4 separate regions of the Homo sapiens genome follow, and all the other regions are linked to region 3. The links are contacts of gene promoters, found by promoter capture Hi-C in blood cells and fetal thymus (Javierre and others, 2016). All regions are on one chromosome and are shown on one strand. The core of a region is centred on a gene start or on the middle of the fragment in contact, and the rest is flanking DNA. Distances in the headings are between cores, read along the strand shown.

Evidence for each region. Contacts are between HindIII fragments. The CHiCAGO score rates a contact against its expected background, and 5 or more counts as called.
Region 1: a contact is called between a fragment that was not itself captured here and the fragment with the promoter of GPR135 in region 3, in 7 of 17 cell types (megakaryocytes, monocytes, endothelial precursors and 4 more). The highest score is 7.8, in megakaryocytes.
Region 2: a fragment that was not itself captured here is called in contact with the fragment with the promoter of GPR135 in region 3 in 1 of 17 cell types (monocytes); the score reaches 5.1 in monocytes.
Region 4: a contact is called between a fragment that was not itself captured here and the fragment with the promoter of GPR135 in region 3, in 8 of 17 cell types (total B cells, naive CD4 T cells, fetal thymus and 5 more). The highest score is 6.9, in total B cells.

The regions. Positions count from the first base shown.
Region 1 is chr14:59,115,613-59,119,184 of GRCh38, forward strand. No RefSeq gene overlaps it. Among named protein-coding and RNA genes, the nearest start is that of DAAM1, 71 kb to the right of the region's middle. The HindIII fragment of the contact is 2,100 bases long and covers 965-3,064 here.
Region 2 is chr14:59,206,660-59,210,102 of GRCh38, forward strand. All of the region lies in intron 1 of DAAM1 (dishevelled associated activator of morphogenesis 1), which reads left to right. Among named protein-coding and RNA genes, the nearest start is that of DAAM1, 20 kb to the left of the region's middle. The HindIII fragment of the contact is 1,449 bases long and covers 837-2,285 here.
Region 3 is chr14:59,463,593-59,466,732 of GRCh38, forward strand. GPR135 (G protein-coupled receptor 135) reads right to left here and starts at 1,788. Exons shown (of 1, transcript NM_022571.6): 1 at 1-1,788. The coding sequence starts at 1,634. The coding sequence ends at 150. It also overlaps a transcript of L3HYPDH not described here. RefSeq lists a silencer at 1,319-1,858. The HindIII fragment of the contact is 8,985 bases long and covers 1-3,140 here.
Region 4 is chr14:59,181,734-59,185,113 of GRCh38, forward strand. LOC107984642 (a long non-coding RNA gene) reads left to right here. Exons shown (of 2, transcript XR_001750928.1): 2 at 1,930-2,514. It also overlaps the pseudogene PPIAP5. Among named protein-coding and RNA genes, the nearest start is that of DAAM1, 5.2 kb to the right of the region's middle. The HindIII fragment of the contact is 1,156 bases long and covers 1,107-2,262 here.

The DNA.
Region 1 (3,572 bases), core at 765-3,264, 350 kb before region 3:
TACCACTGCATACCTAGTGGAATGATCAAGTCCAGAACACTGAAAGCATCAAATGATTAGGGGGATGAGGATCAATAGGAGCTCTCACTAATACGCAAAATGGCACAGCCTCTTTAGAAGACAATTTTGAGGTATCTCACAAAACTAAACATACTCTAACCATATGATCCTGCCATCGTGCTCCTTGGTATTTACTCAAAGGAATTGAAAATGTCCACACAAAAACCTGCACATATATGTTTATAGTAACTTTATTCATAATTGCCAAAACTTGGAAGCAACCAAGATGTTCTTCTGTAAGTGAATGGATAAATATGCTGTGGAACATTAGACAATGGAATATTATTCAACACTAAAAATAAATGAGCTATCAAGCCTTGAAAAGACATAGAGGAAACATAAATGCATGTTACTAAGCGAAAGAAGCCAATCTGAAAGGCTGCATACTGTATGATTTCAACTATATGATATCCTGTAAAAGATAAAACTATGGAGGCAGTAAAAAGACCAATGGTTGCCAGAGGCTAGTGGGGAGGGACAGATGAATAGGAGAAGCACACAGAGTATGTTTAGGGCAGTTAATCTACACCATGATAGTGTAACAGTGGATACATGTCATTACTTAACTGTCCAAACCTGTATATACAACACCAAAATTGAGCCCTAATATAAACTGTGGACTTTGAGTGACTATGACATGTCAGTATAGGTTCATCAATTGTAATAAATGTACCACTCTGGAAGGGGATGTTGATAGTGAGGAAAGTTATGCATGTGTGAGGCAGGGGGTATTAGGAAATCTCTCTACCTTCCTCTTCATTTTGCTTTGAATGTTAAACTGTTCTAAAAAATAAAACCTAAAAAATTGATGAGCGTGTATATTAACCTAAGCATATTGAATCTTTAATGTTTATTTCATTTGTTTATTTATAGAAAATATTATGCATCTCCTTTCAATGACCAAAGCTTTATCCTTTGTTTTGCAGTTATATATAAATGGAAGTCTGTAATTCGATTTTGGGGAAATCAATAAGATCAGCATATGCTGTGATAAATTATTAAATATCATCCACCCCTGCTGACTATACTTTTTCAGTAGATGGCAATATGACCTTTCCTTCTATCTCTGTGATAAAACCATTGGTAAATCCAATAGGCATTTTTAGTCCTTGCTATTTTAAGTTCTCTACAGCATTTGGTCCTTTTGACCACTCCTTCTTATGATATTCTCTCACATCCTTGTCTTTCCAGATGCCACTCCATTTTGGTTCCCCGTGTACCGCTACTGTAATTCCTTCTTCTAAAACTGCTCTTTGTACTTATTTTCCCTCCTTAGTTCAACCTTCAAAATATTTTAGGGTTCCATGCTTAATTCAACTCAATAAGCATTTTTGAGTGTCAAATAATGTGCAAGGCATGAAGGTCAGTACTGTAGATACCAAAATGAATAAGTCATGCAAATCATGGGAGAAGCATACAAAGAAACAAGTATAATCTAACCTCTAAGTGCTACAATAAAAATATGACTCATCCACGGGGTCACAGAGGGTAAAGCAGTAAATTCTGTCCCCTTCTCTCTTTACCCACTCTTCCTAGGTGTTTTAATTGAGTCTTTTCAGTTATAAGAGAGGTTCACAGAGATGATTCAAATAAGGAAGAGTTTGTTTTAATGACACACATGGGCAATAAAGAACAAAGGTGTCTCATAGGAATGAAAGAACAGGGGCGTGCTCTGTCTTCCTGTGCCACATCACTTGTGCTGCATGATGCTTTCTGCTTTCTCACAACTTTAGTTTGCACACAGTCCATAATGGTTCTTTCTCTATCTTGCAGCATCTTGTCAGTTTCAGCAACCTCTACTAATTGCCACATTTACTCAATGTTTATCAGTGTAAACTCCTGATGGGAAAAAAAAAGTCTTGATTGGTCCAGATAATCTTTTTGCACTAGGCTTTGTCAGAAATCACCAGCTAGCCTAAGGATTGAGAACTAAAAATAAAATCCTAAGCCCCCCAACCCACTGAATGGACCCCCTGTTGTCCAAGGGAACCCCAGAGAAACCTTAAAAACTGAGTTCCTGGCCATGATGGGTCAGGAGGTCAGATAAGCCTCATCATACCCTCTCCCTTTTGCAGTTTAGACCCAACAACTTGCCAGCATTAATGTTAAAATAAGGCTGACAGAATGGACTCTTTATGGCAATAAGATACCAAATTCTAAATAGGACCTAAGGCCACACCAGGCAAGGGTTAAGTCATGCACTCCTACACTTAAAGAGTAAACTAGGTTCTAACTGCCACAAGGTTTTTCCTTACTCTGAAGCTAAACAAGCACTGACCTCAAGATAAGCAATATTGAAATAACTGCAGCTCACCCACCATCAGATGCTGACTGACTCCCTGTTTCACAAGCCACAACTACAGCTTCGATTGAACAAGAGACTGATTTCTGTAACTTTCTCCTGATTAGAGACCACCAGCCATGGACTGGCTCTGGCAGGTTTTACAGGCTGTGTACTTGAGTGCCTCCCTGTCTCTGCTTCACATTTGGACATATCTGGCCTAATTGTAATGCATTTAAATGTTAAGTCTCCACCTCAGGGTGAACATGGGTTGTATGTAAAATACATGTTTACTCAACCTGAATATGTATGATGACCCTCATCATGAATATTCATAGCTCCTCTATAACCCATTGAATATGTATACTTGGCCAACCTGTTCGGTATAAATTCCTGTCTCATCTTTCCCTCCCTTGAAGTGCCTGTTTCTGGCCTTTGGCCAGAGGCTATGCTTCCCAGCCTTTCAGAATGGCCACCTTGCAGGCTGTAGCCCTTTATAAGATAGCCTCCTTTCTAAATTTGTAAATTCAGTAATTGCTTTTCTGTTAACAGAATGGAATCCACTTCCAATCCAACCCTCTGTGGTTAGAAGTGGAGATGAACATGTGATAAAGCCCATTTCAATACTGTCCTGCTTGCAAATCCTCAGAGACTTAGAAAAACTCTATTCTCATTAGCATGACCTACAAGGCCCCAAATGATCTGGCCCTGGCCCACCTCTCAAGCTTCATTTCATGATGAAGCTCCTAGACCATGTCAGGTTCTTTCTGCTTAAGGCCCACTGCATATGTTGTTCCTGCCACCTGTATCATGAACTAGAATGTGAGCTCCAGGAGGCAGGGACCTTGTCCATCTTGGTCACCATATAATCACTTATGCCTGGCACAATAAGGACTCAAAAAGTACTTGTCAAGTGAATGTTGAAATAATGGTAGAACAACATTGTCTAAGGCTCACCTCTACAGCGGAGGCTGTGGTTAGGAAGACATAATTCCTGAAGCCTAGGTCATTGGCTGAGCAGACGTCCTCCTGTTTTCCACTGCTAATGTTTTCCACACCTATATATTGTCAGCCGAAGTTCTAGTCTCAATTTCAGACCTGCATTTCCATCTTCCTCTGATCTTCAACTAGACACTCCATGGTGATGTCAGGCCTATTTGTCCCTCAAGCCTGTACCTCTTTCCATATTTCTTCTTTTTTATGGTTTCCCCATTTGGCCACTCACCAAAAT
Region 2 (3,443 bases), core at 311-2,810, 260 kb before region 3:
AGAATGCCGGGTGTAAACAGTAGATACTCTTTAGGATCAAACTATTTTGAGGAGGAAAGTAGTAAGAAATATTGGAAATCAAGTCTACTTTTCTGAAGTTTTGACAAATCAGTTTGTATTATCTTCAGCTACATTTAGCAAAAAATACTCTAGTAGATTTAGGAACTAAAGTAGGGTCTTGACTGGGTTTGTTTTGTTGAATTAGTAAAACTTATTTATCATAGCTTGCATTTGTTTTAAAACATATTTTGATTAATTATTAATTTATTTTTAATCAGTGTTGTGGCCTGTATGCAGGAACTGATCTATTGGTAGATAGTTGGTGCTAAAGAATAATTCTCAAAGAGTTTAAAAATAAGATTCTCAAAATTATAAACACATGCCAACAATTTTAATTCATTAATTAATGAGGGAACCAGTAAGATGTTAAGGGTCGTTCACAGGAGAATTTGAAGAACAGGTATCTATATGTCTGCCTGTGTATCTGTCATCTATCCACAATCAGAAATGCTGAAATAAATTTGCTAGTGTATACAGCACTTGTTAATATTTTCAAGGGCCGTAAAATGCAATGTTTGCTTATCTTTTCTATAGGCATGTAAGGCAATTATATCACTACCAGACAAAATTCATTTGTTTTGCTATGGACAAGAGGCATTACATTACTGTGTGTTTTTGGCAAGTGAGTTTCTGCCTCTACAGAGCTGTGAGATAGTCTAGTCCAACAGGTTCTCAAACTTTTCGATTTCAGGACCCTTTGACTCTATTAAAAATTGAAGATCCCAAAGAGATTTTACTGTGTAATATATTTATCATGTTAGAAATTAGAATTAAGAAGCTTTAAAACTATTAATTTCATTTAAAACATATCAATAATGAAACCTATTTCATGTTATGTGAATGATGACTTCATCGTGGGTATTAAAGCGCCTCAAAAATTCTACTCTATGCTTGTTGAGAGAGTAAGAGTGAAAATGACAACATCCTCGTGTTACAATGAAATTAGTTTTGAACTCACGAACACACTGAAAAGTCCTCTGGCTCTCCAGGACTCCTCAGATCATATTTTGAGAACCACTGGCCTAATTACAAACAAAAAAGTCAAAGATCATCCCTGGAGGGCCTCTTAGACCACAAATCACACTCCATTGAGAGGATACCCAGTAATCTCTTTTGCCCACTTCTAAATCTTGGGTTTTTTCCTGACAGCAGTCCCTTCTCTGAGAAATTTTGCCGTGCCTAGCATGGGGAATTTTCAAGGCCATTCTGAAACTATTAAGTCAGAAACTTATTTTTTGGTTATAATATTAATTTAGGTTCACTGTGGGGAAAAAAACACAGAAAAGTACATAGAAATAGATAAAAATCTTAATGAAGTTTTAAAAATGCTTTTGATTATACATTACCTGCGCTCTTTTGCATTCTGCCCCCAATTAAATGTTGTCATAAGCATTTTTCATGTAATTAAAACTCTTAATAAAACTCTTAGATGACTGCATTTATTTTCATTTTATACATGGTACTGAGAAATAAAAATAAAATCCTAAGCCTCCCAGTTGACCGAATAGACACCCTGTTGTCCAAGGGGACTCCCAGAGAAACCTTAAAAATTGAATTCCTGGCCATGATGGAATGGGAGATTTGACACATCTTAGTATGCCCCTTCCTTATGAGCCTTTAACCAGCATTCCTTCCTAAGGAGTAAGCAGAAGCCAACTCCAGAAAACAAGAAACGAATGAGTCATAACTTCATCGCTTTCAGCCAATCATCTGAGGCCATGGCCGGACTCCCCATCTTTGCAGTTTCGATGTGGCAGCTCACCAGTTTCACATGCATCCCTTCCTAAAAACTGACCACCATCTCTAGGCAGGTTTTGTCCAACTCTCTCAGGAGGTCCAGTGAGGGTTTTCATGTCCTCTGCTTTGCCTTTTGACATCAGAGGGCTGAAAACTCAACCCTCAGATCATGCTAATGCCACTGTTTTTTGAACATATGACCCATGAATAGGCATCAATATCATTTGGATGTTTGTCCCCTCCAAATCTCATGTCGAAATGTAATCCCCAATGTTAGATGTGGGGTCTGGTGGGAGGTGTTTGGGTCATGAGGGTAGATCCCTCATGAATGGCTCAGCACCATCCCCTTGGTGACGAGTGGGTTCTCGCTCAGTTCAGGCAGGATATGGTTGTTTAAAAGAGTTTAGGACCTTCCCCTATCTTTCTCTTGCTCCTTCTCTGGCCATGTGATGTACTGGCTTCCCTCTTCACCTTCTGCTGTGATTGTAAGCTTCCTGGGCCTCACCAGAAGTCCAGCCCTGTTGCTGCCATCCATGTACAGCCTGCAGAACCATGAGCAAATTAAACCTCTCTTCTTTATAAATTATCCAGCCTCAGATATTTCTTTATAACACAAAAAGTCCCAATACAGGCATGAAGCTTAGTTGCGCATGTGCATGTTTCTCCTTTCATAAATATTCAGGACTCCTCCTATAATCTGTTAAATACTTATATTTGACCATCCCTCTTGGCATACATTTCTGTTCTCTTTACTCCTCCCTCCAAGTGCTTGCTGGATGGCACCTTTTATGAGAAATAAAGCTCTCCTTTCCAAATTTATGAACCTTATGATTCTTCAGTTCACAGTACAAGATAACCATTTTTGTTTTTCCATTAAAATTATGAACATCTTTTCCATGTTTTAGATTATTTTCTTAGGATAAATTCATAGAAATAAATGAAACAAAAGGTGCGTAATTTTCGTTTTTCTAAAAGGAAAGATGGTCCCCGACTTACGATGGTTCCACTTGCAGTTTTTTGATATTACCACTGTGGGAAACCAATATGCATTCAGTAGAAATTGTACTTTGAATACCCATACAACCATTCTATTTTTCATTTTCAATATAGTATCTAATAAATTCCATGAGATATTCCACACTTTATTATACAATAGGCTTTGTGTTAGGTAATTTTGCCCAATTGTAGGGTAATGTAAGTGTTTTTGAGCATGTTTAAGGTAGGCTAGGCTAAGCTATAGTGTTCAGCAGGTTGGTGTATTAAATGTATTTTCAACTTACAGTGTTATCAACATACAATGGCTTTATCAAGATGTAACCCTGTTGTAAGTCAAGGAACATCTATATGACCAAATCATCCTCAAGGAAGATTTTGCAGGGGCCAGGCACAGTGACTCATGCCTGTAATTACAACACTTTGGGAGGCCAAGGCAGGAGGATCACTTGAGCCCAGGAGTTTGAGAGTAGCCTGGGCAACATAGGGAGACCCCCATCTCTACAAAAATTAAAGAAAAAAAAAATAGGAAAAAAAGTAGATGGGCATGGTGGTACACACCTGTAGTCCCAGCTACTTGGGGTGTGTGGGCTGAGGTGGGAGGATTGCTTGCGCCCAGGAATTTGAGGCTGCAGTGAGCTATGATACAGCCA
Region 3 (3,140 bases), core at 538-3,037:
TTTATGTTGTTTGGGGAAAGTGGTAAGCCTCCCCCGTCTCTAGCTTTAAATGTTTGGCTTTATGAAATCCACAACTCTCCCCCAGAATCTTCCATCATTAAATAATGCGAGTGGAAATTTGCCTTCATAAGCTGGCCATTCCAACCGTCTTAGAGGCTGGTATCCCCAGCTTCGGATTTAGGCTGTTTGGTCACTGCCGTCACCGGCTCTGGTGGTCCCTCTCGGCAGAAAAGTACAACTGGATTTTTGCGGGCCCACATGGCCACGTCCCCTGCCACTCCGCTGGCCGGGTTGGAAGAGGACATCCTGTTGCAGGCCCCCAGCCGGTTGGCATAGCGGTTTCGAAGGCGACTGCGGCTTCTGGCTTGCAGACCCGGGCCCTGGCTGGGCAGGAAAGCGTCCACATTCCTAGTCCGGTAGCCCTCCTCGCGGTTGCGCCCTAGGAGCATCGAAATGTTGGGATTGCGGATGGCGTAGATGACAGGGTTGATGGCCCCATTGGCCCAGGTCAGCCAGACGGCCACCACGCTGAGGAGCGAGGGGGCCTGCATGGTCTGGGCCTGCCGGGCGGCGGCCAGCAGCACCAGGAAGCAGTAGGGCCCCCAGCAGCAGATGACGAAGACGATCATGATGAGGACGGTGGTGGCCGTGCGCACCTCGCTGAAGAAGCGCAGCACGCGCGCGTAGGTGTTCACCGGCCGCACGCGCACGTCCGACAGGCGCACCGTCTTGCAGATGTGGTAGTGGCAGAAGCACATGAGCAGGAAGGGCAGCAGGTAGCAGGCCACCACCAGCCCCACGCTGAAGGCCGCGCCCAGCTGCGCGGGGTCCGGGGAGGTCCGGTAGAGGCAGCCGTGGAAGCTCTGCGCCGCCGCGAGTTCCCGGGGCGCCCCGAGCAGCTCCCAGGGCAAGGAGAAGCCCAGGGCCGTCAGCCAGGCGCCCGCCAGCAGCTGCAGCGCGCGGCGGCGGCCGATCTTCTCCCGCGGCGGCCGCACGATAGCGCAGTAACGGTCCAACGAGATGAGCGCCACGCTGAGCGTGGACACGATGCCGAAGCACGAGCTGAAGAAGCGGCTGGCGGCGCAGAAGCCGCGCCAGGGCCCCGCGGCGGCGGCAGGCGCCGAACCCCCGGGCGGAGTGAAGAGGTCCAGGAAGGCGGCGGGCAGGCAGAGCAGCGCCGTGAGCAGATCCGATAGGGACAGCGACAGGATGAAGGCGTTGGTGACGGTGCGGAGCTGCCGGTGCTTCACAATCACCCCCATCACCGCGCAGTTGCCAAGGCTAGACAGCAGGAAGATGAGCAGGAGGACGAGCGCCTGGGCCGCCACTGCAGCTCCGTGCGACAGCAGCGGCGCCGCCTCCGGGCCTAGCGGCCGCCTCACCGCCGCCCCCGCCTCCCGCGCTGCCCCGGACCCGCCAAGGCCGCCGCCACCGGGAGCGGCAGCTGTGCCGCCTCCGCTTGCGTCGCTCAGGTTCCCCAGCGCCGCGGTCGCCACGGTGCTGAAGGAGAGCACGGCCGCCGTGGCCGCGGAGGAAGTCCCGCCAGGTGGGCCGGCCGCGGAGGGGGCGCCGGAGTGCTGGCTGCCCAGTAAGGCCATGCTCGCTGGTGGGCGGGGCGGCTGCGGCTCCTCCATGGGGCCCAGTGGCGGCCGCGGATCTCCTCATCCCGCACCGGGGGCGGCGGCCGCTAGGTCGGAGTGGTGGCTCGGGGCCGGGGGCTAGCGGCCGCCGCGGGGAGCTGGGCTCGGCCGGAGGGGTGGCGGTCGCTGGGGACCTGGCGGAGCCTTTGACGTGGGTTCCAGCGTTGCCGAGGGAACCGCGTGTTTACGCAGGAGCGCGGGGCGGGACGGCAGCCCAGTACCCGCTGCAAAGCCGACCCGCGACACCGCCACTCCGGAGGTTACCGGCCCGGGTGTTCGGGTTTCCGAGAGTGCCAGGTCGACCTCCTGAGGGACCAATGTCCGGCCAGATAAAGTGCCGACTGGCATGCAAACAAATGACCAGATTCAACGAAAGTTCACTCTTGCTCTCTTTTGTAGGGTACAAATGTTCTACAGGCAGGCCTTTTGGGGAGTGGTGGGGGGGGCACTCTGCTTCCTGTGGGTGCTTTTGGTATATACAGGTAGGAAAGGAATCTAGAAAGTGAAGTGAAAGAAAAATCCAGAAGTCTACATCCAGACATCTTAAACTTGAGAAGCAGACTAATTTAAACCAGTAATTCTCAAACTTGAGCTAACAGAATTCACATAGAGGGCGTGTTAAAATACAAGTGACGAGGTCTGAACCCCAGCGTTTCGAATATGTCTGGGGAAGTACCCAAGAATTTGTATCTCTAACGGGTTCGCGGGTGGTGATGATGATGCTGGTCCCAGGACCACACTTACAGAAGCACTGATGTCAAGAGTTTCATAAAATGCAGATTCCCAGGCTGACAGAATTACTAAGGATGGGCCCATGACTCTAAACCCCGTAGGTGATTCTGATACAGGTGCTCTGAGGAGCTAGGATAGTTCCTTTAGATGTTACTTCATTTCCAAGGGCCTGGACCTCAGGCCCCTACTGGCTGATAAATGGGGGGAGAGGGATTGGTGCCTTGCCCTGCTAGCAGCCTTCATCTGTTCTCAGGAATGGGGTATGTTTTGAGTCTAAGGTGCTGCCAGCCTGGCAATCACCACAGATGCAGCTCCAGGTACCTGGCTGGGAGATACGGGGAAAAGAAAGGCAGGGCTACCCAGGGAAGTTGCATCTCAAGTTTCTGGGCATGGCCTCTAATGGGGAAAAGTGTGATAAACCCTCAGGTTAACTAACCCTGGGCTCTTCGCTAAAGCAGTGGTTCACAGAGTATGGACATTGGACCAGCAGCATCAACATCCCCTGGAAACCTTGAGAAATACAAATTATCAGGCCTACAGTGCATAGGATACCCCTGATCTACTGAAACTCCTGTGGTGGGGCCCAGGCACCTATGTTTTAACAAGCCCTCCCAGTGATTCTGATGCACAAATTTGAGAAACACTGCTCTAAAGAATGACTAGTATATTTGTAGATCTTAGAATCAATGGTATTAGTATTGGAGTGCTTATTTCATTCAGAAAAAATATCCTACAGGAAATTTACAGTATAAATAGAAGAACGTTTAA
Region 4 (3,380 bases), core at 435-2,934, 280 kb before region 3:
GCATCTTGTCCATGGCAAATTCTGAACCCAACATCAACAGTTCCAGTCTATCATCTGCACAGCTGGGCCTGAGTGGTTGGATGGCAAGCATGTGGTTTTTTGGCAAGGTAAAGACAGAAGGAATATCTTGGAAGGCACAGAGTGCTTTGGGTCCAGAAATGGCAAGACCAACAAGAAGATCGCCATTGCTAACTGTGGACAACTCTAATAAATTTGGCTTGTGTTTTATCTTAGCCACCACACTGTTCTTTCTGTAGCTCAAGAGAGTATCCCTCCATCCCATCTGTTTGCAATGTCCATTATCTTTGTGCTCTTGTTGCAATTCTTTGGGTTCCATATTTTCCTTATTCTCTAAGTCTAGCTGGATTACAGAGTTAAGTTTATAATTATGAAATAAAAAATAAATAACAAGAACAAATGGTTATCTTCCCAAAATAAAATATCACATAGCACTCAAAATGCTAATGATGTAAAAAAATCCAATGAGAGGGAAGATGGTGGGGAGTGGAGGGAGAAATGTTAATATTTCTCCCTCGTTTGTTGGCTCATGGGTGATTTTTATGGCCTTAAGTAGCAATATTTTCTAAATTCTTTACAAAAGACATGAATAACCATTATAATTAGAAAAATATATTAAAAAACTTGGGTACCAGAATACATAAAACAATTTCTTATGGGAATGATCTTGAGATAATTTGGCCTAGTATTTAATTCATATAAATATTTTATTTTAATATGTATATACATAAGTGGACACAAATCTTAAGTGTACAGCATGATAAATTTTCACAAAATAAAGTAGCCACATAAACAGCACCCAGATAAAAAATACCAGCATCCCAGAGACCTCTCATGTTCTCTTCTATTACTATCCCCTAAAGGTAACTGTTACTCTGTCTTCTAACACTATCAATGGCTTTACCTCTTTAAAAAAATGTTACATAAGTGGAATCATACAGTATATACTCTTTTTACTCAGTGTTTTTTGGTGCGGTTCCTCCTATTTTCACACGTAGACATAGCTTGTTAATTCTCATAGCCAGATAGCACGGGTTGGCAAACTATGGCTTACAGGCTTACAGGCCAGCTGACTGTTTTGTAAATAAAGCTTTATTGGAACACAGCCATACTCATTCCTTTATGTCTACGACTGCTTTCATGCTACAATGGCAGCACTGAGTAACTGTAACAGAGATCATATGGCCCTCAAAGCCTAAAATATTTACTATCTGGCCCCTTACAGAAAAAAGTTTGCCAACCCCTGCGATATAGTATTATGTGCCTATGCCACAATCTATTTATCCACTGTACCGTTGATGAGCAACTGTGTTGATTTTAGTTTGGGGCTATCATGGAGTTGCCAGATTTAGCAAATAAAAATACCTAATGTCTCCTTAAATTTGAATTTCAGACAAACAATAAATATTTTTAGTGTAAGTATATCCCAAATATTGTATGGCAACCCTAGGCTATATGAATACATGTATGAATATATGAATAGCATAACTATGAACATTTGAATAGGTAACTTTTGGTGAACACATATACACAACTCTGTTAGGTATATTGCTAGCAGTGAAATTGCTCAGCCATAAAGGATGTGTATGCTCATGCTTAGCAAATACTAATAAAGATTTTTCCAAAGCAGTTTTACCAGTTTACAGTTTCACTAGCAGTGTAAGATTTGTTTCTTATCTTTGGCAATGCTTAGTATAGTTGGTCCTTTTAATTTTAACCAATGTGATGGGTATGTAGTGGTATCCCATTATAGTCTTAATTTATATTTTCCTGCTGACAAATGAATTTAAGCATTAGTTGGGCTGTCTTTTTCGTGATGGCCAGTGATTTATTATATGTTCTAGCTTCAGTTGGTGAACTAGAACAATTATATATCCTTTCTCTTTGTCTCTTCATTTTCTCTCTCTTCAGAATTTGACTTGGGGAAGAAGAAGAAAAGAAGGTGGATTTCAGCATGAAAGAATCTAAACAGTCATTAGTGAACAAATGTGTAGCAGTGCTGTCCAACAGAACTTTCTGAAGAAGTAATGGGAATACTCTGTATCTGTGATGTCCTGTATGGTAGCCACTGGCCTCACACAGCTCTTGAGCACTTGAAATGTGGCTACTGTGACTGAGTAATTGAGTTTTAAAATTTCATCAATTTTAATTAATTGAAATTTAAATAGCCACATGAGGCCAGTGACTACAGAATTGAACAGCACAGGTCTCACAGATGGACTAAGAGTAAGCCAGTTACGAAGAAGCTTATACAGGAAGACCGGCTAAAATATGTCAAAGGAGAGTTTCTCTTTCTGAACTCCGAGGAGCTGTTCAAATAAGACTGGTCTGGAGAGAGTTTTGGGTGGCTGGAGGTATTTTCACCCCTCCACTTACTGTGCCTAACCTTAGTATTGTTGCCATTCTCACGTTTCTGTATGACTCCATCTCCCTTGTTCTGTTCCGATGCCGCTTTTTCAGTTTTTCTGAGCTCTCAATTAAACACAGTGAAATGAATCTCCTCCAAGTGCCTTTTTAGTGACTAAACTGAATAGTTGGCTCAGAATGCTACAAAGTCCTCTCCCTCAGGAAGAACCAAGTTTTACCATTAAGATCCTGATAGATTTACCAGCTTTAACTGACACCTCTTGGGGTGGCTTCCAGATTCACACTTTCTCCTTTTTGAGAAGACTCCCAGACACACGGGGATAGGTCCTGAGTGATCATATTTGAGCCACACAATCTTGTTACGCTTGCTGTAGATCCATGGTTCAAAAACATTCAAGTGTGTCTGACTCAGCTGGAGGACTTGTGAAGACACATGTGGTGGGACCCATCCCTAAAGCTTCTTTTCCAGTAGGTGTGTAGGTGTGGCCCAAGTATCTGCATATCTAACAAGTTCTCAGGTGATACTGATGTTGCTGGTCTGGGGATTGTACTTTAAGATAATTAAGTCAGGGACTGTTGCCTGACATAGGACAATAAGCTTCTCTCAGGAATTTGAAATTTGGAACAAAGAGCTCGGAGTCTTAGTGCTAGTAGACCAGTGCTCTGGAGAGGTCTGAAAACTACCACTGCTTAGGTTCCTAGTTTGTCCAGTTCCTGTTTGTCTTGAGCCTTGGTTGTCTAATCCTTTGAATAAATCCCATTACATTCTTTGTTTTGCATAAACTGGCCATAGAAAGTTCTTGTTGTCTGCCCCTAAAAGAACTTTAACTAAAGTGTGAGTATGTCAGTTAAAGTGTTCCACCAAAAAAACAGAAACGATTCTAAGTAGTATTTAAAACAGAGATAATGTGGTCCAGAGAATTGGCCATACTGTGATAGAAGATCTGTGAAGCCAAACACCCAACGCAGAGATTAGCAACAGCAGGAAGCTATCT